Linked DNA regions of Homo sapiens: regions 1, 2, 3, 4, 5 and 7 are each linked to region 6. The links are contacts of gene promoters, found by promoter capture Hi-C in blood cells and fetal thymus (Javierre and others, 2016). All regions are on one chromosome and are shown on one strand. Each heading gives the region's core, a stretch centred on a gene start or on the middle of the fragment in contact. The rest is flanking DNA. Distances are from core to core; before and after follow the strand shown.

Region 1 (3,107 bases), core at 196-2,695, 670 kb before region 6:
GGCCTCCCAAAGTGCTAGGATTATGGACGTGAGCCACCGCGCCTGACCCTACTTGGTGGTTTTTCTCGAGGGCTATATTACTGTCAGAGGTGGCTGTAATGGATGTCAAGTGGCAAGTTGAATCTGTATTCCAACATACAGCTACAGCTTTCAATACTACACAGCATGCCATTATCCTACTAACTGAAGAGACTTCTCAAATTAGACAGGTAGCCTTACGAAACTGCATGGCTTTGGACATTTTAACAGCGGCTCAAGGGAGATCTTGTGCTATCATCAAAATGGAATGTTGTTTGTATATTCCATAATATTAACATAATATTACTCAGGCCATGAAGGACTTAGACACCCATATCTCTGCCATTAACACACTGTCAGTTGACCCCATATCAGGGTGGTTCCAGCAATTGTCTGGTTCATGGAAAACCTTTTTGTTCAGATGCTTGGAACAGATTCTGTTTTGTTGCTGTGGAATGTATTGCTGTTGTAATTTTTGTGCAAGAAAACAAGGTAAACCTAGCCAGGCACAGTGGCTCACACCAGTAATCCCAGCACTTTGGGAAGCCGAGGCAAGCGGATCACCTGAGGTCAGGAGTTTTAAGACCAGCCTGGCCAACGTAGTGAAACTCCATCTCTACTAAAAATACAAAATTAGCAGGGCATAGTGGGACACAGCTGTAATCCCAGCTACTCAAGAGGCTGAGGCAGGAGACTCGCTTGAACCTGGGAGGCGGAGGTTGCAGTGAGCCGAGATCATGCCATTGCACTCCAGCCTGTGCAACAAGAGCAAAATGCCGTCAAAAAAAAAAAAAAAAAAAAAAAAAGAAAAGAAAAGAAAACAAGGTAAACCTATTAAATAGCTTCTTTAAATTGAACACTTACTAATTTTCCAGATTTCACCTTTTGTTGAAAGTCACAATAATGATTGGTCCTCACCACGCCAACACTTGCTGAGTGAACTCCTCTCCAATCTAAATACAAGGGATCCCAGTGGTTAGGGAGGAATATCATTGCTCCTGTTCACCTTGAAGACATTTATGAAGATGGACCTCTGTCCCTCTGTACCCCTTAGAATTAAGGATCCCCTTATAAAAGGGAGGAGGAAAATATATCAGAGGTGTCCAAACCAGAGTGACTCCGTCTTGAATAAGGCCAAATGAAGTGAAACCTGCTGGATTCCATTCCCAGGAAGCTAGGCACTCTCCTTCACAGGACCTTTATGGTTGAGAGAATGAGTTAATGATAAGTAAACAAGACCCAGAACTTAACAGAAAGTCTTGAAGTCCTGATATCTCAAGACCAAAAAGTATTCTTAGTCTAAGAATAGGCTTCTTATATTAATAGATAATAGGTTTCTTATACTAATAGGTAATAGTATATCCCTAAATTCCTGCTGAACTCAATAGTTACACAAGAGGATAACATCAGCCTGTCACAAGCTGGTCACAAGCCTTTATAATAAAGCACATAAGTTCATTATTATTCTTAGCTTGCTTTCTTCTTCTTGTTTTTTTTTTTTTTTTTTTTTTTTGAGACAGAGTCTCGCTTTGTTACCCAGGCTGTAGTGCAGTGGCATGATCTCTGTTCACTGCAACCTCTGCCTCCCAGGTTCAAATGATTCTTCTGCCTCAGCCTCCTTAGTAGCTGGGATTATGGGTGCACGCCACCACACCTGGCTAATATTTTATATTTTTGATGGAGACAGGGTTTCACCGTGTTGGCCAGGCTGGCCTTGAACTCCTGACCTCAAGTGATCCAGCCTCCCTGGCCTCCCAAAGTGTTGGGATTACAGGTGTGAGCCACCATGCCTGGCCAGCTCCCTTATTATATAGCATTTTATTTGTGTTCAGAGTCCTACTCTTGCTTTTTTTTTTCTTTTCCTTTTTTTTTTCTTTCAAGACAAGCCTTATCTGTCACCCAGGCAGGAGTGCAGTGGCACAATAATGGCTCACTGCAGCGTTGACATCCCAGACTCATGAGATCCTACTGCCTAGTCTCTCTAGCAGTTGGGACTGCAGGTATGCTACCATGCAGGGCAAATTTTTTTTATTTTTAGTAGAGATGGAGTCTCATTATGTTGTCCAGGCTGGTCTTGAACACCTGGTCTCAAGCAGTTGTCACACCTCATCTTCCAAAGTGCTGGGATTATAGGTGTGAGCTACGGTGCCTGGCCTCCTCTTGTTGTTAGTTCTGAGGATGCCCTACTCTGTAATAGAGTAGTCTTTAATAAACTTGCTTTTTTCACTGTGCTCTGTGACTGGCCCAGAATTCTTTCCTGTCAGAGATCCAAGAACTCACTCTGTGGTCTGGCTCCAGACCCCTTTCCTGTAACAGTTTGAGCAATAAAAGTAGCCCGGGCTGGTACCAAGCACCAAAGTCAGATTTCTCAACAGTCAGGACCACCTCCACTCAGAGTCCCTTCTGTTGGATGCCAATTTGTCAACCAAAATATGTCTGACACAAGTCTCAGTCAATTTAGAAGTTTGTAAAGTTTAGAAGCCAATGTAAGGCACACGCCAGAAGAAGGGAATATAGAAACCACAGAAACAGTCTGCGATCTGTGCCTTTCTCCAAAGATGATTTTGTGGGCTTCAATATCTAAAGGGGAAAAGCAGGCTGGAAAGAGGGAAGGTCCAGTCACATCACAGAATCCACATGTTGCAAGAGACAAGGAACAGGTAGGGGAATAGTCAGTTATGTATTTGTCTCATGCTCAGTAAATCGGCACTTGATAAGATAAGGTGGACAACCAGCAGCTGGAGATATCTGGCCTTTTATCTGTAGCATCTGCTTAGGAACAAAAGAAAAGGCAGCTTCTTGCGTGACTCGGCTTTTGGCTTATTCTTTTTTCCTTTTGGTAGGCTAAATCGAGATCCTGAGGTTTTATTTTCCTTTCATAAATGAACAAATGAATGAATGAATGAATGAAAAAAGAAAGTGCGGAAGGAAAAATAGTTCATGTCCCAAAGCAGTGGTGTAGTTCTAAAAGATGGACACTAGATGGCAGCAGGCACCTGCACCGAGGCAGCTGAGGGTGGTGAGGAATGTCCGGTATTTGGCCTTCAGATGGAGGGATGTCCAGGGCGCCTCAAGGGCCCCACAGGTTT
Region 2 (3,166 bases), core at 51-2,550, 690 kb before region 6:
ACAAGTGCAGAGATAGACATTTCAGGGCTGTGTAGCTGATCAAAGATCCCCTTAAGAAATCAGTCCTACAATGCTGCTCTGCCAGTCTTAGCATGCTTGGAGAGATGGCTGCTACATCTCCAGGGTCAGAGACCCAAAGCCCTCCCCGGGGACCTCTGCCTGCAGCTCCTTGCCAGAACTGGTTCACATGGTCACTATCTGTGCAAGAGAGGCTGGGAAATTTAGTACTTGAGTTTTCCAGCTTCTCCTTTTTAAGAGAAAGGGGAATTGGGATGGATACTGTGAGTCAATTCTGGGCCCCAGTGAAAAGGTTCTTGGGAACAACTTGGAGAATCTGGAGAAGGGCCTATAGGAAACACACAATGGTAACTGTAAGATTCAAAAGAAAGTTTCAATGAGACAAATAGCTTATCTTGGAGAAGAGGTTAAGGGGCCCTCACTTCCTCTGCCTTTACATAGTTGATTCTATTCAAAATTCAGCTCTAGGACAGGCACCATGGCTCATGCCTGTGATCCCAGCACTTTGGGAGGCTGAGGTTAGAGGATCACTTGAGCCCTAGAGTTCGAGACCAGCCTGGGCAACATAGTGAGACCCTCTATCTATAAAAAAAATTAAAAATTATGGGTGGGCACAGTGGCTCACACCTGTATTCCCAGCACTTTGGGAGGCTGAGGTGGGTGGATCTCTTGAGGTCAGGAGTTCAAGACCAGCCTGGCCAACATGGTGAAACCCTGTCTCCACTAAAAACAAAAATTGGCTAGGCATGGTGGTGCACACCTGTAATCCCAGCTACTCGGGAGGGTGAGGCAGGAGAATCACTTGAACTTGGGGGGGTGGGTGTGTGGGAGGTTGCTACTCAGGAGGCTGGGGCAGGAGGATTGCAGTTCAGGAGGTCAAAGCTGCAAGTAAGTCTTTTGTTTGTTTGTTTGTTTGTTTGGTGGGGGACAGAGTCTCACTCTGTCACCCAGGCTACAATGCAGTGGTGTGATCTCCGCTTACTGCAACCTCCGCCTCCCGGGTTCAAGCGATTCTCCTGCCTCAGCCTCCTGAGTAGCTGGGATTACAGGTGTTTGCCACCATGTCTCACTAATTTTCGTATGTTTTTTTTTTTTGGGGGACGGAGTCTTGCTCTGTCACCCAGGCTGGAGTGCAGTGGTGTGATACTGGCTCACTGCAATCTCTGCCTCCTGGGTTCAAGCGATTCTCTTGCCGCAGCCTCCCGAGTAGCTGGGACTACAGGTGCCCACCACCACCCCTGGCTAAGTTTTGTATTTTTAGTAGAGATGGGGTTTCACCATCTTGGCCAGGCTGGTCTGGAACTCCTGACCTTATGATCCACCCGCCTCAGCCTCCCAAAGTGCTGGGATTACAGGCATGAGCCACCGCACCTGGCCAATTTTTGTACTTTTATTAGAGACAGGATTTCACCATGTTGGCCAGGCTGGTCTCAAACTGCTGACCTCAGGTGTGATTTGCCCACCTCAGCCTCCCAAAGTTTACAGGCGTGAGCTGGGATTACAGGTGTGAGCCACTGCACCCAGCCTGCAGTGAACCTTGATTGCGCCACTGCATTCCAGCCTGGGCAACAAAGCAAGACCCTAAAAATAATAAAATGCAGCTCTGGTGTTCCTTCCTGTAGGAAGTGTTTCCAAGTTCTTTGCTTTTTTTTTTTTAACAGCTTTATTGAGATATAATTCACATACTATAAAATTCACCCTTTTAGTATATATGTTGCTGAAGCAAGTAGGGAAATTCACCCTTTAAAAATATACAATTAAATGGCTGGTTCATATATTATAGAGTTGTGCAATCATCACCACCATCTATTTTCAGAACATTTTCATCTTCCCACAAAATCAACCCAGTACCTATTAGCAGTCATTCTCCATTCTCCACTCCCCCCAGCACCTGGGAACTTACTTTCTGTTTCTATAGATTTGCCTATTCTGGCCATTTCATATAAATGGGACCATACAATAAATGACCTTTTGCAACTGGATTCTTTCACTCAGCATAATGTTTTCAAGGTTCATCCAGAAACCATGTATCAGTACTGCATTCCTTTTTACAGATTCCATTGTATATATATGACATTTTGTTTAACCACTCATCAGTTGATGGACTTTGGGTTGTTTCCACATTTTGTCTATGAATAATGCTGCTACAAATATTCACGCACAAGCCTTTGTGTGGACATATGTTTGCATTCTCTTGGGTATATATACCTCTATCACATATGTCTTATTTATTTGGTTAATTCACTGCTGGGTAATATGCTAACCCTATGTTCAACACTTTAAGGAACTGCCACAACTGTTTCCCAAGTGAACAGGGTTGGATCTTTATTTTAAACATTTTAAATGCTTGTAATCATTTTAAATAATAGTTGAGTTTGAAAATGACTACTTTTACAGCTTGTGCAATATAAAGTGGCTGTACCCTGAGGCTGTTCAGAGTGATATATATTGGATTTTGTCACATGTATGCCCAGGGTAGGAGAAAATGAAATTTAAATTCTATTTGTTTCTTACTATTTTTAATTTCTGTTCGTGTATGGTTTTTCTGTTTTTGAGACAGAGTCTTGCTCTGTTGCCCAGGCTGGAGTGCAGTGGCACAATCTCGGCTTACTGCAACCTCCACTTCCTGAGTTCAAGAGATTCTCCTGCCTCAGCCTCCCAAGTAGCTGGAATTATAGAAGCCCACCACCACACCTGGCTTATTTTTGTATTTCTAGTAGAGACAGGGTTTTGCCATGTTGGACAGGCTAGTCTCAAACTCCTGACCTCAGGTGATCCACCTGCCACAGCCTCCCAAAGTGCTGGGATCACAGGCATAAGCCACCGCACCTGGCCTATTTGTGTATTTCAAAGGCACATATTGTACTCATATATTACTGCACTCATATAATTTTTTAAATTACAAAGTTAATAAAGCAGCTCAAGTTTGAGGGAGTTTTTAAAAATTACTATTTTTTAAAAATCACAATATCTCTATCAGGTGGCTGCATTGACTGGCAACTAATACTGAAGCTTGCATGGGAAGCCTTTAGAGCTTATACAAATTGCTGGACTGAGATGACAAGGACCCCATGAGCCTCCCGAACCCTTCAGTCTTTTTTCATTGGTTCCATAAGATGCCTCTTCCCAACCAGGGCAATCCAGCAAG
Region 3 (3,407 bases), core at 424-2,923, 650 kb before region 6:
TCAGGGCAGTCACTCTTGAAATCCAGAACTTCTTTCTGTCTGGTGGATAAATCCACTACACATCCCATAGACTCTGCGTCATAAATACCTGATGTACAAGAGATAGACACTTTATAAATCATCAACACTGACTTTGGCAGAGCCTATTACCAATATTATTTCCTGGGAGCCAGAGGAATACAAACCAAAAGTCTCCTGGTCCCTTTTCTGCCACTGGAGTGTGACTCACGGCAACTCCCTATGCTTTCTGTCTCTCTCTTTTCCCCCAATTCAGTCTCACCATCCTGTTTGGGGATTTACATAGTGGTTGTGAACCAAAGATTCACTTTGGAGGGAAACCTGGCCTAGTGATGATCCTTAGGCATCTTGTTATATATTAAAATATATGGGCCTGGTATGGTGGCTCACACCTAGTTCCCAGCACCTAGGGAGCCAACACACGAGGATCGCTTGAGCCCAGGAGGTTGAGGCTGCTGTGAGCCGTGTTCATGCCACTGCACTCCAGCCTGGGCAACAGAGCTAGACCCTGTCTCTTAAAAAAATGAGTCAACAAATTTAAATATTGTAATTATGCTCAAAAGGAAGTAGCAATTTGGTTGCTTTATTTATTTTGGGATCACTTCAAGTTTATGGACTAAGTTAGAAACATAATGCATTGCATATTTACTATGTCATATACTTATAAGTGTATATTGGCCAGGTGTGATGGCTCATGCCTATAATCCAGCACTTTGGGAGGCCAAGGCAGGTGGATCACTTGAGGTCAGGAGTTCGAGACCAGCCTGGGCAACATGGGAAAACCCCGTCTCTACTAAAAATACAAAAATTAGCTGGGCATGGTGGTGCACGCCTGTAGTCCTAGCTACTCGGGAGGCCGAGGCAGGAGAATCGCTTGAACCCGGGAGGTGGAGGTTTCAATGAGCCAAGATTGTGCCACTACATTCCAGCCTGGGTGACAGAGTAAGACCCTGTCTCAAAAAAAAAAAAAAAAAAAAATATATATATATATATATATATATAGAGAGAGAGAGAGAGAGAGAGAGAGAGAGAGAGAGTAATATGTTACATATTACAAATATATTTTTATTACCATTTTCATTTATATAATTACTTATGTAAAAGTTATGCATTTGTATAGAAATACACATATGCATACATTTCTATAGAAAACTATGTTAAGGGAAACCATTGTAAAAAAAAAACCCATTTGCAATTTTCGTATCTTCCTTATAAATCCTTGAAGAGAAGCCACTAAATTTAATACATCTCAGATAACTGTGATTCATAAATGGTAGGGGATGAAAAATATATGGCTGCTGCTCTCAAGGAATTTACAGAAAAGTAGGCATTTCATAAATACTTGGTGATTTATAATGCACTGATCTTTGGAGCCTGGATAACCTGGCTACTTAATATGTCACGCCTCGCTGATATCAAATAGACACCCAAAGGTAATGATTTCAAAGGTTATTCTAATTAACAAGGGACTACTTCAGACTCTGGCAGAATATGGTTCATTAAGTACAATTTAATCATTAAGGCAATAATATTAATTATGCATGCTTTCTGAGAAAACACCTTATCTCTTTATTCTTATTAATAACCATCTCAATTTTATAAATTACATTCAAACTTATGTACTGAAAGTTATGCAAAGGCAAGGGACCATTGTTTTAGATAGAAACAATAAATTATTTACCCAAAGCTATTCAGAAAACACTAGTCAAAACTGAAACTAGGCTTCCAAACACCCTGTCAGTATTTAAATATGTCAAGGTCAAAGTCAGATTAAGCAACTGGTCTTAGATATTTTTAGCAGTAGCTACAATTAAGATTTAATAACAGTACACAGGTCTGGAAAATGTCATAATGTCATACACCAATTATTATCTTGAAATTCATTAAGAACTCCATAATCATAAGAGTTTTGGGAGACAGGCAATGGAAAGAATATCTTGTTAGGTACCTACTATGAGCCTGGTGCTCTATGGTTCATTATGAAAATCATCTCAGTGAATTCTCGTAACAACCTTGTGATGCACATTTTTAATCTTCATTTCATCCACGAGGAAACAGAGGGGAAGAAATTTGCTCTGGTTCATTGTGCTAGTAAATGGAAGAGCTGCACAAGTTTAAATCCATAAAATAAAATGCAGAGAAGTACAAAGACAGTTGTATTTAATAACTGTAAAATGTATTAGAATGTAAATAAATAGTACCTATCTAAGTATTTTCCTGCTTATTGATGAAGGTCAGTATTTTTTTTTTATTATACTTTAAGTTCTAGGGTAGATGTGCACAACATGCAGGTTTGTTAGATATCTATACATGTGCCATGTTGGTGTGCTGCACCCATTAACTCGTCATTCACATTAGGTATATCTCCTAATGCTATCCCTCCCCACTCCCCCCACCCCACAACAGGCCCCAGTGTGTGATGTTCCCCTTTCTGTGTCCAAGTGTTCTCATTGTTCAATTCCCACCTATGAGTGAGAACAGGCGGTGTTTGGTTTTTTGTCCCTGCGATAGTTTGCTGAGAATGATGGTTTCCAGCTTCATCCATGTCCCTACAAAGGACATGAACTCATCCTTTTTTATGGCTGCACAGAATTCCATGGTGTATATGTGCCACATTTTCTTAATCCAGTCTATCATTGATGGACATTCGGGTTGGTTCCAAGTCTTTGCTATTGTGAATAGTGCTGCAGTAAACATACATGTGCATGTGTCTTTATAGTAGCATGACTTATAATCCTTTGGGTATATACCCAGTAATGAGATGGCTGGGTCAAATGGTATTTCTAGTTCTACATCCTTGAGGAATCACCACACTGTCTTCCACAATGGTTGAACTAGTTTACACTCCCACCAACAGTGTAAAAGTGTTCCTATTTCTCCACATCCTCTCCAGCACCTGTTGTTTCCTGACTTTTTAATGATCGCCATTCTAACTGGTGTGAGATGGTATCTCATTGTGGTTTTGATTTGCATTTCTCTGATGGCCCGTGATGATGAGCATTTTTTCATGTGTCTTTTGGCTGCATAAATGTCTTCTTTTGAGAAGTGTCTGTTCATATCCTTCACCCACTTGTTGATGGGGTTGTGTGTTTTTTTCTTGTAAATTTGTTTGAGTTCTTTGTAGATTCTGGATATTAGTCCTTTGTCAGATGAGTAGATTGCAAAAATTTTCTTCCATTCTGTAGGGTGCCTGTTCACTCTGATGGTAGTTTCTTTTGCTGTGCAGAAGCTCTTTAGCTTAATTAGATCCCATTTGTCAATTTTGGCTTTTGTTGCCATTGCTTTTGGTGTTTTAGACATGAAGTCCTTGCCCATGCCTATGTACTGAATGGTAATGCCTAGGTTTTCTTCTAGGGTTTTTATGGTTTTAGGTCTAACATTTAAGTCTT
Region 4 (3,427 bases), core at 567-3,066, 760 kb before region 6:
AGTCAACACCCTACAGAAAGTCTGTCTCCTGGCTTTGTCTGTTTGCTAAATAGTAGTGTCATTGAGCTTGTTCTCTAATCCCCCGTATTTGCTATAAACTCGGGGTTATATCTAAAGACTAGCAATATCTAAAAAACAAATTGTGCCTTATTTGCTGTCCCTTTGTATTCCTAGATCATAGGTGACAGTGATGTGACACGATTCAGTGAGCCCAATAACTGAGGCTTCAACTTAAGAGTTGTGGTTTTCTCCTGGTTACAAACAGTGCCGTTTTCTACTCTTACTTTGTTTTGAAAACGAAAAGTCAATATTTGAAGAACTCTTAAATAATAAAGTAGGTGCTGCTTTTCAAGCCAGCTATTTGAAGAAAATTAATGAAAAAGAAACATTACTGATCTATATAGGGTGACATGCTACTGAATGTATGAATCCTTCAGTTTTCTCCCCTAATGAGAAGTAGCAATTTTCCACTTTGCCTTGTTTTTGTTCCTATCATTCCCTCCCACCCGTATCTCTTACTTTCTTAGCTTTTCAAGCTACTTACTATCTTTAGCTGGATCTGGCTAGACATTGGTTTTCATACAGTATTTGTCTAGTTTGTTTGAGTTTACATGCCAATAGGCTTATGTCTAATAGAGACTTTTAATTTAAAAGATACTATTGTCAACCTCAAATAACCAAAAAGGTCAGAATCTAGTTTACAGAGTTTATTCAAGCACAACAGTTGAGGACTGCAGCCCAGGACACACTTCCAAGTTGCCTTGGGGAGTGCTCCAGAGAACAAAAGAGAGGCTCAAATTTTTAAAGGACAAATCAAAAGGTGGGGCGCGGTTACAAAAATGGTTAATCAGGGATTCTCATTGGTTTACAGAAATAACATTGGTTAGTGATTGGCTATGTATTGTTGAACTATAGGGTGTATGGCATTTTAGGGCCACTTGGCGTCAGTCTAGAGCCCACATAGCAAGCGGCTTCAAGAAGTAATTATGTAGCTCAAAGGGGAGTGAGCTTGGACTGCTGTGAACATTTTAAATGCCTTTCTGGGCCTGATCATTTAAAGGTGCTTGCATTTCTCAGATCCAAGGTTTTTGTTTCTCACTATCCCTTAACATAGATAAGAACATTTTGAACAAATTAAATAAATAGGATTTTGAGTGGCTTTGTTTTCATGATTACATCATGAGTCTTAATGTTCAAAACATATTGACTCACATTTGGCTATTTGATAATGCATTCTTGGATCGGGAGCCTTAACCACTTAAGGTGGTATGACAGTATGGCTAAAGCTGATTCAAATTCCATTTGTTGTTGGCATGTTACAGTGTTTGTAATAACAGTGTTCCCAATAATTACATGCTAATAAGACTTTTAATTTGCAAAATGCTTTCATATTTGTTTTTGGTTTTGAGCCACATTTTGTTGCTGGAAGGAGAAAGTTTATGTCCACCCTACTAGTGAGAAAACTGAGGCTCAGAAAGACTCACTTATTTGTTGCGGGTGAGCTGTGACTATCTGGGCCAGCAGTGCGAGGGTACAAGAATTTACTAAGACTGGCTGGGCGTGGTGCCTCATGCCTGTAATCCCAGCATTTTGGGAGGCCAAGGTGGGTGGAGCTCCTGAGGTCAGGAGTTCGAGACCAGCCTGTCCAACATGGCAAAACCCTGTCTCTACTAAAAATACAAAAAATTAGCTGGGTGTGGTGGTGGGCGCCTATAATCCCAGCTACTTGGGAGGCTGAGACAGGAGAATTGCTTGAACCCGGGAGGTGGAGGTTGCAGTGAGCTGAGATTGTGCCACTGCACTGTAGCCTGGGCGATAGGGTGAGACTCTGTCTTAAAAAGAAAAATAAAAAAAAGATTAGGATGATGCTAAAGTGTGGAAGGATGGTGGGTGGTCAGCTGTGATTACCACTGTCTACATCTGCATGGCCTTTAAGTGCTTCTCACTGCACTTGGGTCAAGGGACTTTTGAAGGAGTCTTCCTGCATTTCTGTCTGCCCAGATAAACCCAGAGACTATACTGGGACGTAGGACCTGCTTTCCTCATCAGCCAGGACCTATAGACCTTTCTCATCCCTCATTTCCCCCATCCCAGATCTCAAATCCTCAAGCAGAATATCCTGACACTCTGGCCTGCCTTCAGCAAAAATCCATCAAGTTGAGTAAACCCAGAATCTTCCCTCACCTTTGATGTTTCCTCTTAGTAATTTTTCATCTGTTGATCCCCATTCTACTTGGTGGCAATAAATCCTCACTTGTCCTTGTATTCAAAATTGAGCCCAGTCCCTCCCCCTTCTGCAAAACCTTCCCTTCTGTCAGTAGTCTCTCTTGAATAAAGGCTTCCTCAGAGTCTTTGACAAGTGTTATGAATAATTGTTTGCTTAACACTGCACAAAGGGGAAATGGTCTAGAAGAGATACAGACCATTTCTGTTTTCCTAATGATCAGTGATGATCGGTGACCCTAGACTAAACCTCTCTGAAGGATTATTTTAGGCAGAAAGGCCTCTCCCCTCTTCCCTGGGTTTCCTTTCTCAGTCTGCCCCATTTATCTAATTTCCTGTACTTACTTATAAAGAAACTAGATAGTAATTCTTTGGATTGGGCCATTCCACCAAACTTCTATATTGTATGTATAGTATTAGATGATGTTTATATGTTAATAGCCCTTTTAAAGGGTACCACATCCCACCCATCTTTGTTGACATGTTAGTGCCCAAATATCTTTGTAGTTTTCTGCATTTTACTTTTTCCCCTATTGTTTCAAATGCCTGGAATACTCTCTTCACTGTCTCTTAAATTTTCTAAACTCCCATTCACTTTCAAGGTGTGTCTTATTGGTGGAGCAGACACTCCTGGGGACCAACTTGGCAGAAATTAGAATGAGAACATACCAAGAAGCTGAAACTTGGCAGAAATAATGTAGGGAGTCTGTTGGTAATCAGCTGCCTACCACCACCGCAAATTTTGAGATTCTCCTCCTGCTAAAAGCTAAATTATGTGTATTTTCAATAAGGGAGGCATTTTTTTTTCTTGCCTGTGACCAGTCACAGTCTGACTTCATATCTTGTTGTTCCCCATGTTCCCTTATATTCTACAGCAGAACAGAGCTTTCTGTTGCATCCAGTATTTTAAAAACAAGTGTCTGTACCATAACTGAGTCTGGTGTCTTCTGACCTCTCCCTTCCTTACACTGTCTTCCCTCAGTATCGGCAGGAGACTGGTTCCAGAACCTCCTGCAGATACCAAAACCCTTACATAAAATGGCTTGGTGTTTGCCTGTAACCTGTGCATATCCTCATGTATGCTTTAAATCATGTCTAGATTACTTAAAATACCTAATTTGATGTAAATGCTATGTAAATGGTTTTTATACCTTACTGTGCTTTTATTTATATTATTTTTTATTGTTGTGTTGTTATTTTTATT
Region 5 (3,292 bases), core at 498-2,997, 730 kb after region 6:
TCGTCAAGTATTATCTGTTATTTATATAAATATCTAGCTTTTATATCAAAATTATCTTTTTGTAAGGCTGTATCAATTTATATTCCCACCAGCTGTGTTCTTCGTAGATTTGCTATCCATTGGTTCCCAAATGTTGTATACTCTCATTACACTGTGGAATATTTAATGCCTTTTTGTTATGAAAAAACTGTTTTTATTAATTAACATCAAGGATATGGTGCTGACAAATATTCTCTAAAATTATGGAATGTTGGAAACTCTGCTGTCTGACATCCTTTCCGTGTGAATGGAACATCCCATTCTTGTCCAGAGCATCTGAGCCATACAGGTCACTTTGACACAGGATTTTCAATACAGGTACAAAGCTTTAGATAGAGTTTTCAGACCCAACGTTTCACATTTGTCGTAATTTTGAGATTTCCAAGGAAAGAGCCTGCTTCCTACTCAGGTCTGATGTTAACCTGATGCTGCACACAGCTCTGCTTTGCTTCGAGTCTATCAAACACTGCTCCAGTTAATTCTTACCAAAAAATCCCCCCATTCCCATAACCCAATAATGACACTTCCGTTTGATGAGAGGCATTGAGGTTCCTCTGGAGTGCAGTCTCCCTTGCTGCAGCAAGTTAATAAATCTAACTTTGTTGACTACAGGTTTGTTCCTGGTGCTCTTTATTGGAAGACTTTAGCAATCTTAAACTGCTGGCCCCAAATCCCAAAACAACGGGAAACTCTACTCAGTATCTTTTCTTTTTTTCTTTTTTTTGAGATGGAGTCTGGCTCTTGTCCCCCAGGCTGGAGTGCAATGGTGCAATCTCGGCTCGCTGTAACCTCCACCTCCCGGGTTCAAGCGATTCTCCTGCCTCAGCCTCCCAAGTAGCTGGGACTACAGGCGCCCTCCACCATGCCCGGCTAATTTTTGTATTTTTAGTAGAGACGGGGTTTCATCATGTTGGCCAGGCTGGTCTCGAACTCCTGACCTCGTGATCCGCCCGCCTCGGCCTCCCAAAGTGCTGGGATTACAGGCGTGAGCCACCGCGCCTGGCCAGTATCTTTTCTTAAAGATTCCTTCTTATACAAGTTGAATTAGACAAGATGGATCATTTTGGCTTTTAGTTCCTCCAACATTCCAACCTAGTTAGAGCGGCTTTTCTCTGTGCATGGAAAATTCTTCCCCCAGATCTCTTGCCTGGCTGGCCCAGTTCATACCTAAGGTAGCCATCTGTCCTCACACTGCCGCACCCCCACCCCGTCACTCCACCTCATCATCTCATTTCATTTTCCTATTTTTCTAATCACTCTCTGAGATTATCTTACTTCATTATCTATTTGTTTATAAATTATCCCAATGAGGATGTTAAGATCAGGAGAGAGGGTACCACGACAGCGCTGACAGCCGCAGCTGCCCAGTGTCTAGAACTGTGCCCAACAAACACTTGTGGAATGAGTAAGCAGACGAGGAACTAGACACTTCGTTTGCCTTCGTCCCCTTTAAATACCCTCCAGGTGGACCCAGCCGCATTAAAACTCTGAGAACTAGGTGAATGGCATTTGGCCTCGCCACTGGCCGGAGCGTTTGCCGTTGATCCAGGCAACCACTGTTTTCCCACCAGTCGTGTAGTCGCTCTACCTGGCTCCGCCCCCCAGGACGCCGAGCCTCGGCCGGGCGGTAAAATCGGCGCTTACCCTTTAAGCGGCGGGACTTCTGGTCACGTCGTCCGCGGTCGCCGGAAGGGGAAGTTTCGCCTCAGAAGGCTGCCTCGCTGGTCCGAATTCGGTGGCGCCACGTCCGCCCGTCTCCGCCTTCTGCATCGCGGCTTCGGCGGCTTCCACCTAGACACCTAACAGTCGCGGAGCCGGCCGCGTCGTGAGGGGGTCGGCACGGGGAGTCGGGCGGTCTTGTGCATCTTGGCTACCTGTGGGTCGAAGATGTCGGACATCGGAGACTGGTTCAGGAGCATCCCGGCGATCACGCGCTATTGGTTCGCCGCCACCGTCGCCGTGCCCTTGGTCGGCAAACTCGGCCTCATCAGCCCGGCCTACCTCTTCCTCTGGCCCGAAGCCTTCCTTTATCGCTTTCAGGTACTTACCGGAGACGGGGGGCGTGGAGACTACAGGCCCCAGGAGGCCCAGCGGCGGCTAAGCGTAGGCTGGCATGTTGCGGGCGCGCGGTGCCTGCTGGGATTTGTAGTGGGTCCGGCGCCGGCGGTTTAGGGCGGGGTCCTTTGGGCCCGGGGAGGCTCTGGGATCTGGAGCGGGGTGCTGGATAGCTGGAGTTGTGGGCTGGCCTGGTGGGGAGGGGTTGACTTCACTGGTATAGTGAGATTGTGCTTCCCGCTCTTCGCACTCAGTGAAGGAAGCAGTGAGATTAGTCGTTGGTAGTTGTCAATCTGTTGGACGCTGGCGATTAGGTCCGCCTGGAGCATTGCCCTCTGACCTCCCTCTGTCACCCACGTGGGTGGCCTGTAGGTGTCAACTTCACCAACTTATAGCTGAGTTCCTTTCACGTTTATGGAGTTTTTTTGTTTTGGTTTTCCTATAGGAGTGATTTAAAGTCAGAGATACAAAGAACGAGTGTATTGTTCTGCATTTCCCTCTAGACCTAATTTAGTGTCCCCCACGTAGTAATAGAATGTACGAAGGAATGGGCAAAGAGTACATTTGTCCAGAAATGGAAGGCCTTGTTATTTTCTTAAGCATGAAGGAAACAGTCCAGAGTAACATTTCTGTCAAGAGAGTGCCAGTTTTCTGAAGGTTATCTGTATTCACCAATTTCTGATTTAAAACTTCAATCAGTGGCAGGTCAGATAGCAAGATCTGGCATTAATTTCAGCCCTTTACTTGGCCTATGGATAACATTTTCTTGTCTTTCCCTGTCTTCACTGGGTGTTACTTCTTGGTTTCCTTTGCTGGTTCCTTATCTTCCTGACTTTTAAATGTTAGGATGTGCCTTGGGAATCAGTTATAGGACCTTTTCTATAGACTCTCCCTAGCTTTAGGTGGTCTCATTCATTCAGCCTCAGGGCTTTACATACTTTCTATAAACTGGAGATTCTGAAATATAAATATAAATATCTTCAGTCCAGATCTGTCTCCCTATTTCCAGATTTGTGCATCCAGCAGTTACTTGAAATCACGACTTGGATGACTAAGAGTCATCTTCATCTTAACGTGTCCAAAACTGAATCCCCTTTCCCCCTTTGCCTTAGAAGTGAATAGCAACTCCGTTATTAGAGGAGCTGAAGTTAATTGTCGGAGTCATCTTTTATTTTTCTTGTTTTTCTCACACCCCACA
Region 6 (3,352 bases), core at 708-3,207:
TCTTTCTCGGTTTTTGCTATATTAAAGTGAAAGCATTTTCTTGGCCACATGATGCATGACCAGAACCTTAATATTCACTTCCTGGCACTAAATCCCCAAGGGAGGAAGGGAGCAAAGTAAACTAAACTATAACAATCCTCATACTGGCTGGGCACTGTGGCTCACGCCTGTAATCCCAGCACTTTGGAAGGCCGAGACGGGCGGATCATGAGGTCAAGATATCGAGACCAGCCTGGCCAACATGATGAAACCCCGTCTCTACTAAAAATACAAAAATTAGCTGGGCGTGGTGGCGCGCACCTGTAGTACCAGCTACTCGGGAGGCTGAGGCAGGAGAATCGCTTGAACCCAAGAAGCAGAGTTTGCAGTGAGCGGAGATCACACCACTGCACTCCAGCCTGGGCAACAGGAGACTCTGTCTCAAAGAAATGAAAATAAAAATAAAAATAAATAAATAATCCTTATATACCATCACCGCCACCATTCCAAACTTCCCAAAAATGCCACTGCCGAGTGCCAACAGAAAACTGAATTTCACTCTCGACCAAGTATAATGGGAGGAAGCGAAGGTCAATCTATGACCAGAGCAGCAGTGCGTTATCTGTAGCCCATATCACTACTTTCGTAAGACTTAAAACCATCTGCTATGTTACGTATTTATTCATTTATTTGTTTACGTCTTTCTTTAGTAAAATGTAAGCTCCATGAAGGCAGTCTTTGTCTTGTTGACTGTTGCAAATTACCTGCACCTAGAGCAACGCACAGCACCTAGTAGGTGGTCAATAAATATCTATTAAACAATTGAGTAAAACAGACTAAAAAAATCGAGAATTAACTTTCAAAAACCTCATGTCACTCTTGTTGAAACATCTCTGATAAACCCATCTTGTCTGGAGGATAAAGTCCAACAAAACAAAGCACACAAGCACCTTCAAAATCTGGCCCTGACCACTTTTCCAGGCTCATCTGCTACCAGCCCCGCGCACTCAAAAAACTTCAACTCCAAACATGTCAGTCCAAACTCTGGTGATACAGTCACTTGCTACTCATGAGACATGTTCTTTCACTCATCCAAGCTTTGTAAAATGACTTTCCCTCCCCCTGGAAAAATCTTTATTCCCTCTTATTTAACTCTTATTCGTCCTCCAAGGCCCAATTTAAGTGCCTGCCTTAAAAATCCTTCCAACTCTCCCAGGATAATTTCTCCCTCCCTCTGCTCTCACATATACTACAATGCAGGTGTGTATGAGCTGCTATCATCCTGTATCGTATTCATTTGTTTCCCATCCCTTTCCCACCATCCTGAAATTCCGGAGGTCAAGGACCGTGTTTAAAATCTCTATCGCAGGTGCCTGGCTGAATGTATCCTGCGGGCAAAGGCGCCAGTCGAGTCCTGTGGACACCATGCCATCCCATTTAGCGATCGCCCCGTCCTGGCCCTGTGGCCCCACAGCCGTCCCCTCCTCGCCCTGGGCTGAAGGTCCGTCTCCCCAAGACCACGGAGGAGTAAAGGAAGGGAGTCAGCCGGCAGCAGCCCGCTCGGGCCCCGCGAGCGAGGCAAGCAGGTGACCGCTGGGCGGGCCGAATCCGTCAGGGGCCCGGTCCCAGGTTCCGGCCGTACCTGTCTCACGTTGGCCGGCAACTTGTTCCAGGGGTAGTTGTGCCGGATGTGGAACTCCACGTCTATGTTCATGATGCCGCGGCCAGGGCCGGCGGCCGGGGCCGCCACCGCGACCCACACTACGCCTCCCGCCTGCCCGCCCGCAGCCTGTCAGCGGAGCGACGCGGGAGGCCCCGCGCCTCACACTGCAGAAGGCCCAGGCTGCCCCATGGCCTAGGCTCCCGACAGTTCAGCGCCGCCCGGGCCAACCGAGTACAAGAGCAGCAGCGATTGGAGGCTGGATCGCCTGAACAGCTCCAAGTTTCTTCCTAGTTTCGGGCCGCCGGAAATGGCTCTGGGCACACGTCACTTCCGCCCGCTGGCGCGCGGCCGGAGGGGCGGGGCACGGACTGGCCTCTAGCCACGCCCTCTACAGGCTGCGGGGCGGGGCGACGACGAGGTACCGGGAGGTGCCCGGGTGAGCGTTCCCCGCCCGCGCGCTTCGTCTCCCCGTTTCAGTCTCTGAATGAACGGCGATAGTCGCTTGGGTCTGCGTTGCCGTTGCTGATGACCCAGTTTACTCAAATTGTAAAGCCGGAGGCACTGGGGTCGGTTTTCAGAGAAAAGCGACCTGGGAAGCGGGCCGGCAGTGGCTGGCTTTACATTGGAGTGCGGTGCGCTCGCGGGGGTTCTCCACAGGCCAGCCCGGAACCCGGGCCAGTGAGACGGGGCGGGGGGTTGCGGGGACGGGTCCAGGGCCCTGGAGAAAGAAATAATCTCTAAGTCAGGTCTCGCACCGGGTTGAGCGAGAAGCATGGGCAGTGGGAGAGCAAAGGTCTGGTAAGCCCTCTTCCCTTCCGCGGTGTGCTGCACGTCATTGGGCTCCACTTCCCAAGAAGATCCAAATTCTTACAATGCAGGGATTCAGGGAGCTGAAATTTTAAACAGTGGTGCTGACAGGTCGAGGCAGCCTACAGGGCTGACAGAGAGATACCCTTGCCAACTTTGTCATGCAGCCTGTCGGTTTCTGCTTTATTCTGCTCCACACAAATGCCTCCAGAGTCACTTAAAAGCAAAAATCCAGCATGTCTTAATTTCAGATTGAGTGATAAGGTCTTTGGGAATAATTTCTTTCAGAAGTTGTTACGCTGCCTTAGCAAACCCGTGACCATTATTCCTGGCAGCAACCAGAGACAAGTTCAGTGTTATTGCAACTGTTTTTCAGTTTTTAACAATGGTTTTAAATAATGTTTTATTATATACTGGGAGATGTATACTTAGAACTTTTTATAAGATACCTAGCTCACACCTCAACAGCTGGCAAGTCTGATGCTTAGCAGAAACCCCATTATGTCTGATGAAATAAAGGTGACAAGTACACACTGCCCTTGCTTAGATGTTTTGGTCTCCTATTATCCAACTATAATAACCCAAAGATAAGTGCTTTGAACCTTATGTTTACAGATCCTCATCAGCATAGCTAAGGTTAACTGAACTCTAACCGTGAGACATTTATTCAACAAATATTGATTACCTGCCCGCCATGTATTAAGGCCTTGACTTGACAATAGATTATTCCTCACAACCCTGATATTCCTACAACAGTAACCACTTACTATCCCAGTTTGATAGAGGAGGAGACTGAGGCTTGGCAGGGCTTCATGACTTGCTCGCAAGATCACACAGGTAGCACTGACAGAGCCAAACTGGAGCCGAAGGCTATCCTCACTCCAGAGCCATCCTTTCAGTTCC
Region 7 (3,156 bases), core at 571-3,070, 770 kb before region 6:
AGGTGACTGATCACAGTTCACCACAACTGTGTGTAGATAGAGTAATAATAAAAAAAAGTTTGAAATATTGCAAGAATTGCCAAACTGAGAAACAGAGACAGGGAGTGAGCACATGCTGTTGGAAAAATGGTGCCCACAGACTTGCTCAGCACGGGGTTGCCACAAACTTTCAATCTGTGAAAATACAATATCTGCCAAGCACAATAAAACAAAATGCAATAAAATGAGGTAGGCCTGCATCTGACAACTGTCAGGAAATAAGTCTCCTAGCTACCCCTTGAAGGGCAAGTGATTTCTGAGGCTGAGGTGTGGGACTGAAGAAACAAAGTCTATTTCTCAGAAGGCAGTCATCATAATTCTCACCTACCTTGTAGCAATCGTATCTCTCATAGGAGGTGCCCCCAGGAGAGTCAGGGAAGATGTATGGCTGTGGATGCTGACGGTACCAGAATTCTTCCTCGGCCTCCTTCAGCAGCTGGGTGGCCTTCGCCATATCCTTTTCATTCTTATGTTCTTCAAACCGGGCTCTCATCAAACAAGCAAAGTATCGGTATTTGTCTCTTAAACCAAAATGATTTTGAAGATTAGAAATGTTACCTACTCACGTGGTCAGTGTTGCTGTCTGACAGGAGGCTGCACTTCTGATACCTTCTGGATGGGCAGTGGACCTACCCCAACCCTCCCAATGGAGCAGCCGTATCATCATGGCTGCTTCCTCTACAGCCCACCAAACAGCAGCAGCAAAAAAATACTGTATTAAATATATACCCTAACCATTTTTCTCCTCTTACATCCAACAATGGAATGAGGATTTAAACAAAAAAAAAAAAAAAAAAAAAGAAAAGAGCATTCGCAAGAGAAAAGCTATAACCTCTGCAGGATCATTCAACATTCATTGAATGACAACTTCCATTTCCTTCTATCTTGTGCTAGTCACTATGCTAAATTCTGGAGATACAAAGATGAATAAGAAAGGTGTTACTTGGCAGAAACAGTATTGCTTAGCTCATACAGAGCTAGGTTTGTATCCTGACTCTGACACTAGCTGCATAAACTTAGGCAAGTTAAAGTCAAGTTCTAAAGAAACTGGGCAAAGATCAGTTAGGAGGTTTTGACAATAATCTAGGACACAGCTGACGAGGGCCTGAAAGTACGGAGCTGTGATGGTGACAGGAGACAGGGGAGACATTGAGACTTCCAAGTTATGAGAATAGGCTCTCCAGTCAGACTGTATGGGCCTGAATCTTAGCTCTGCCACTACTAGCTGTGTAACTTGGGGTAAGTTACTGTCTTCTGGTCAGGTGCGGTGGCTCACACCTGTAATCCCAGCACGTTGGGAGGCCAAGGCGTGTGGATCACCTGAGGTCTGGAGTTCAAGACAAGCCTGATCAACATGGAGAAACCCCGTCTCTACTAAAAATACAAAAATGAGGCCGGGCATGGTGGCTCACGCCTGTAATCCCAGCACTTTGGGAGGCCAAGGCAGGGGGATCATCTGAGGTGAGGAGTTCTACACCAGCCTGGCCAACATGGTGAAATCCCGTCTCAGCTAAAAATACAAAAACTAGCCGGGCGTGGTGGCAGGCACCTGTAATCCCAGCTACTCTGGGGGCCAAGGCAGGAGAATAGCTTGAACCCGGGAGGCAGAGGTTGCAGTGAGTCGAGATTGTGCCATTTGCACTCCAGCCTGGGGGACAAGAGCGAGACTTCATCTCAAAAAAAAACAACAACAACAACAACAAAAAGGCCAGGCACGGTGGCTCACGCCTGTAATCCCAGCACTTTGGGAGGCTGAGGTGGAGGTCACCTGAGGTCAGGAGTTCAAGACCAGCCTGGCCAACATGGCAAAACCCCGTCTCTACTAAAAATACAAAAATTAGCCAGGCGTGGTGGCGCATGCCTGTAATCCCAGCTACTCGGGAGACTGAGGCAGGAGAATTGCTTGAACCCGGGAGACGGAACTTGCGGTGAGCCAAGATCGCGCCACTGCACTCCAGCCTGGGCAACATAAGCGAAACTCCGTCTAACAAAAAAACAAACAAAAAAAGTCTTCTAGGCCACGGGTTCCTCCTCTGTAAAACAGTGGCAATAACAGTGTGTATATCTTAAGGTTGTCATAAACAGTCAATAAGATAAACACACTTTAAAAAGTGCCTGGTACATCCCAAGTGTTAAATAATGTCAGTTACTAATATCATACTGGAAAGAGAATTTATAAAAACCAGTGTCTAATTATACATGGTGTATGAGTATGTGTGTTATTGGCAAAGGAATAAGGAGCAAATACTTGAGAACAATTCTGAGACTTAAAGCTCAGTAACTGAATTACTAATAATACCATTAGCGGAGGCAGGGAATTTGGGAAAAGAGTCAGAATGGGGAGTGACAGGAAAACAAGTTTGATTTCAAAGAATTTAGATAAATGGAGATTGAGAGAACGGTTGGTGATCTTTTCAATTTTTTTTTTATTATTATTTTTTGAGACAAAGTTTCACTCTTGTCGCCCAGGCTGGAGTGCAATGGGGCTATCTCGGCTCACTGCAGCCTCTGCCTCCCAGGTTCAAGCGGTTCTTCTGCCTCAGCCTCATGAGTAGCTGGGATTACAGGCACCCACCACCACGCCTGGCTAATTTTTGTATTTTTAGTAGAGACGCGGTTTCACATGTAGGCCAGGCTGTTGAACTCCTGGCCTCAGGTGATCCACTCACCTCAGCCTCCCAAAGTACTGGGATTATAGGCGTGAGCCATCATGCCCAGCCAACAGTCGTGATCTAACAAGCAATTCGAACTACAGCTCTAGAGACAAATGAGCGCAGGTGGTGACAGCACTAAATGAGGCTGCCCGAGTACATACAACAACACAGTATGCCTAGGATGGAACCACAGAGAACAGCACAATGAGGGCAAATGGAGGAAGAAATTAAGGCAAGGATTGAGAAAGAATGTCAGATCTAAAAAATGCTGAGCCATAACTGTCATAGTAGCTAGTTTATATCATTTTCCTCTAGAACTATGGACTTTAGTATTCCCAGCTATAGTTCAGTATTGCTTGAATTCTTTTTTTCATGTTTAACTTTTTTTGACACATAATTATTGTACCTATTTATGGGGTACATGTGATATTTTAATACATCCATATAATGTATAATGATCAAA

The links. Contacts are between HindIII fragments. The CHiCAGO score rates a contact against its expected background, and 5 or more counts as called.
Region 1: a fragment that was not itself captured here is called in contact with the fragment with the promoter of FAM91A1 in region 6 in 15 of 17 cell types (megakaryocytes, M2 macrophages, M0 macrophages and 12 more); the score reaches 23.2 in megakaryocytes.
Region 2: a fragment that was not itself captured here is called in contact with the fragment with the promoter of FAM91A1 in region 6 in 12 of 17 cell types (total B cells, erythroblasts, M1 macrophages and 9 more); the score reaches 10.2 in total B cells.
Region 3: a fragment that was not itself captured here is called in contact with the fragment with the promoter of FAM91A1 in region 6 in 1 of 17 cell types (erythroblasts); the score reaches 6.2 in erythroblasts.
Region 4: a contact is called between a fragment that was not itself captured here and the fragment with the promoter of FAM91A1 in region 6, in 1 of 17 cell types (megakaryocytes). The highest score is 5.2, in megakaryocytes.
Region 5: a contact is called between the fragment with the promoter of DERL1 here and the fragment with the promoter of FAM91A1 in region 6, in 2 of 17 cell types (fetal thymus and monocytes). The highest score is 6.8, in fetal thymus.
Region 7: a contact is called between a fragment that was not itself captured here and the fragment with the promoter of FAM91A1 in region 6, in 1 of 17 cell types (neutrophils). The highest score is 7.6, in neutrophils.

Annotation. Positions count from the first base shown.
Region 1 is chr8:124,440,460-124,443,566 of GRCh38, reverse strand. No RefSeq gene overlaps it. Among named protein-coding and RNA genes, the nearest start is that of TYW2, 8.8 kb to the left of the region's middle. RefSeq lists an enhancer at 2,738-3,107. The HindIII fragment of the contact is 6,278 bases long and covers 1-3,107 here.
Region 2 is chr8:124,457,097-124,460,262 of GRCh38, reverse strand. No RefSeq gene overlaps it. Among named protein-coding and RNA genes, the nearest start is that of TYW2, 7.9 kb to the right of the region's middle. The HindIII fragment of the contact is 3,465 bases long and covers 1-3,032 here.
Region 3 is chr8:124,412,143-124,415,549 of GRCh38, reverse strand. No RefSeq gene overlaps it. Among named protein-coding and RNA genes, the nearest start is that of TYW2, 37 kb to the left of the region's middle. The HindIII fragment of the contact is 9,425 bases long and covers 1-3,407 here.
Region 4 is chr8:124,523,572-124,526,998 of GRCh38, reverse strand. The region is part of intron 1 of TATDN1 (TatD DNase domain containing 1); the gene reads left to right. Among named protein-coding and RNA genes, the nearest start is that of TATDN1, 14 kb to the left of the region's middle. The HindIII fragment of the contact is 4,231 bases long and covers 1-3,427 here.
Region 5 is chr8:123,040,757-123,044,048 of GRCh38, reverse strand. It overlaps DERL1 (derlin 1), which reads left to right and starts at 1,747. Exons shown (of 8, transcript NM_024295.6): 1 at 1,747-2,079. The coding sequence starts at 1,927. RefSeq lists an enhancer at 1,798-2,337. The HindIII fragment of the contact is 6,787 bases long and covers 368-3,292 here.
Region 6 is chr8:123,767,044-123,770,395 of GRCh38, reverse strand. FAM91A1 (family with sequence similarity 91 member A1) reads right to left here and starts at 1,957. Exons shown (of 24, transcript NM_144963.4): 1 at 1,622-1,957. The coding sequence starts at 1,693. RefSeq lists silencers at 4-53, 1,622-1,771. The HindIII fragment of the contact is 7,175 bases long and covers 1,079-3,352 here.
Region 7 is chr8:124,540,491-124,543,646 of GRCh38, reverse strand. NDUFB9 (NADH:ubiquinone oxidoreductase subunit B9) reads right to left here. Exons shown (of 4, transcript NM_005005.3): 2 at 368-560. Among named protein-coding and RNA genes, the nearest start is that of NDUFB9, 2.9 kb to the right of the region's middle. The HindIII fragment of the contact is 4,221 bases long and covers 1-3,156 here.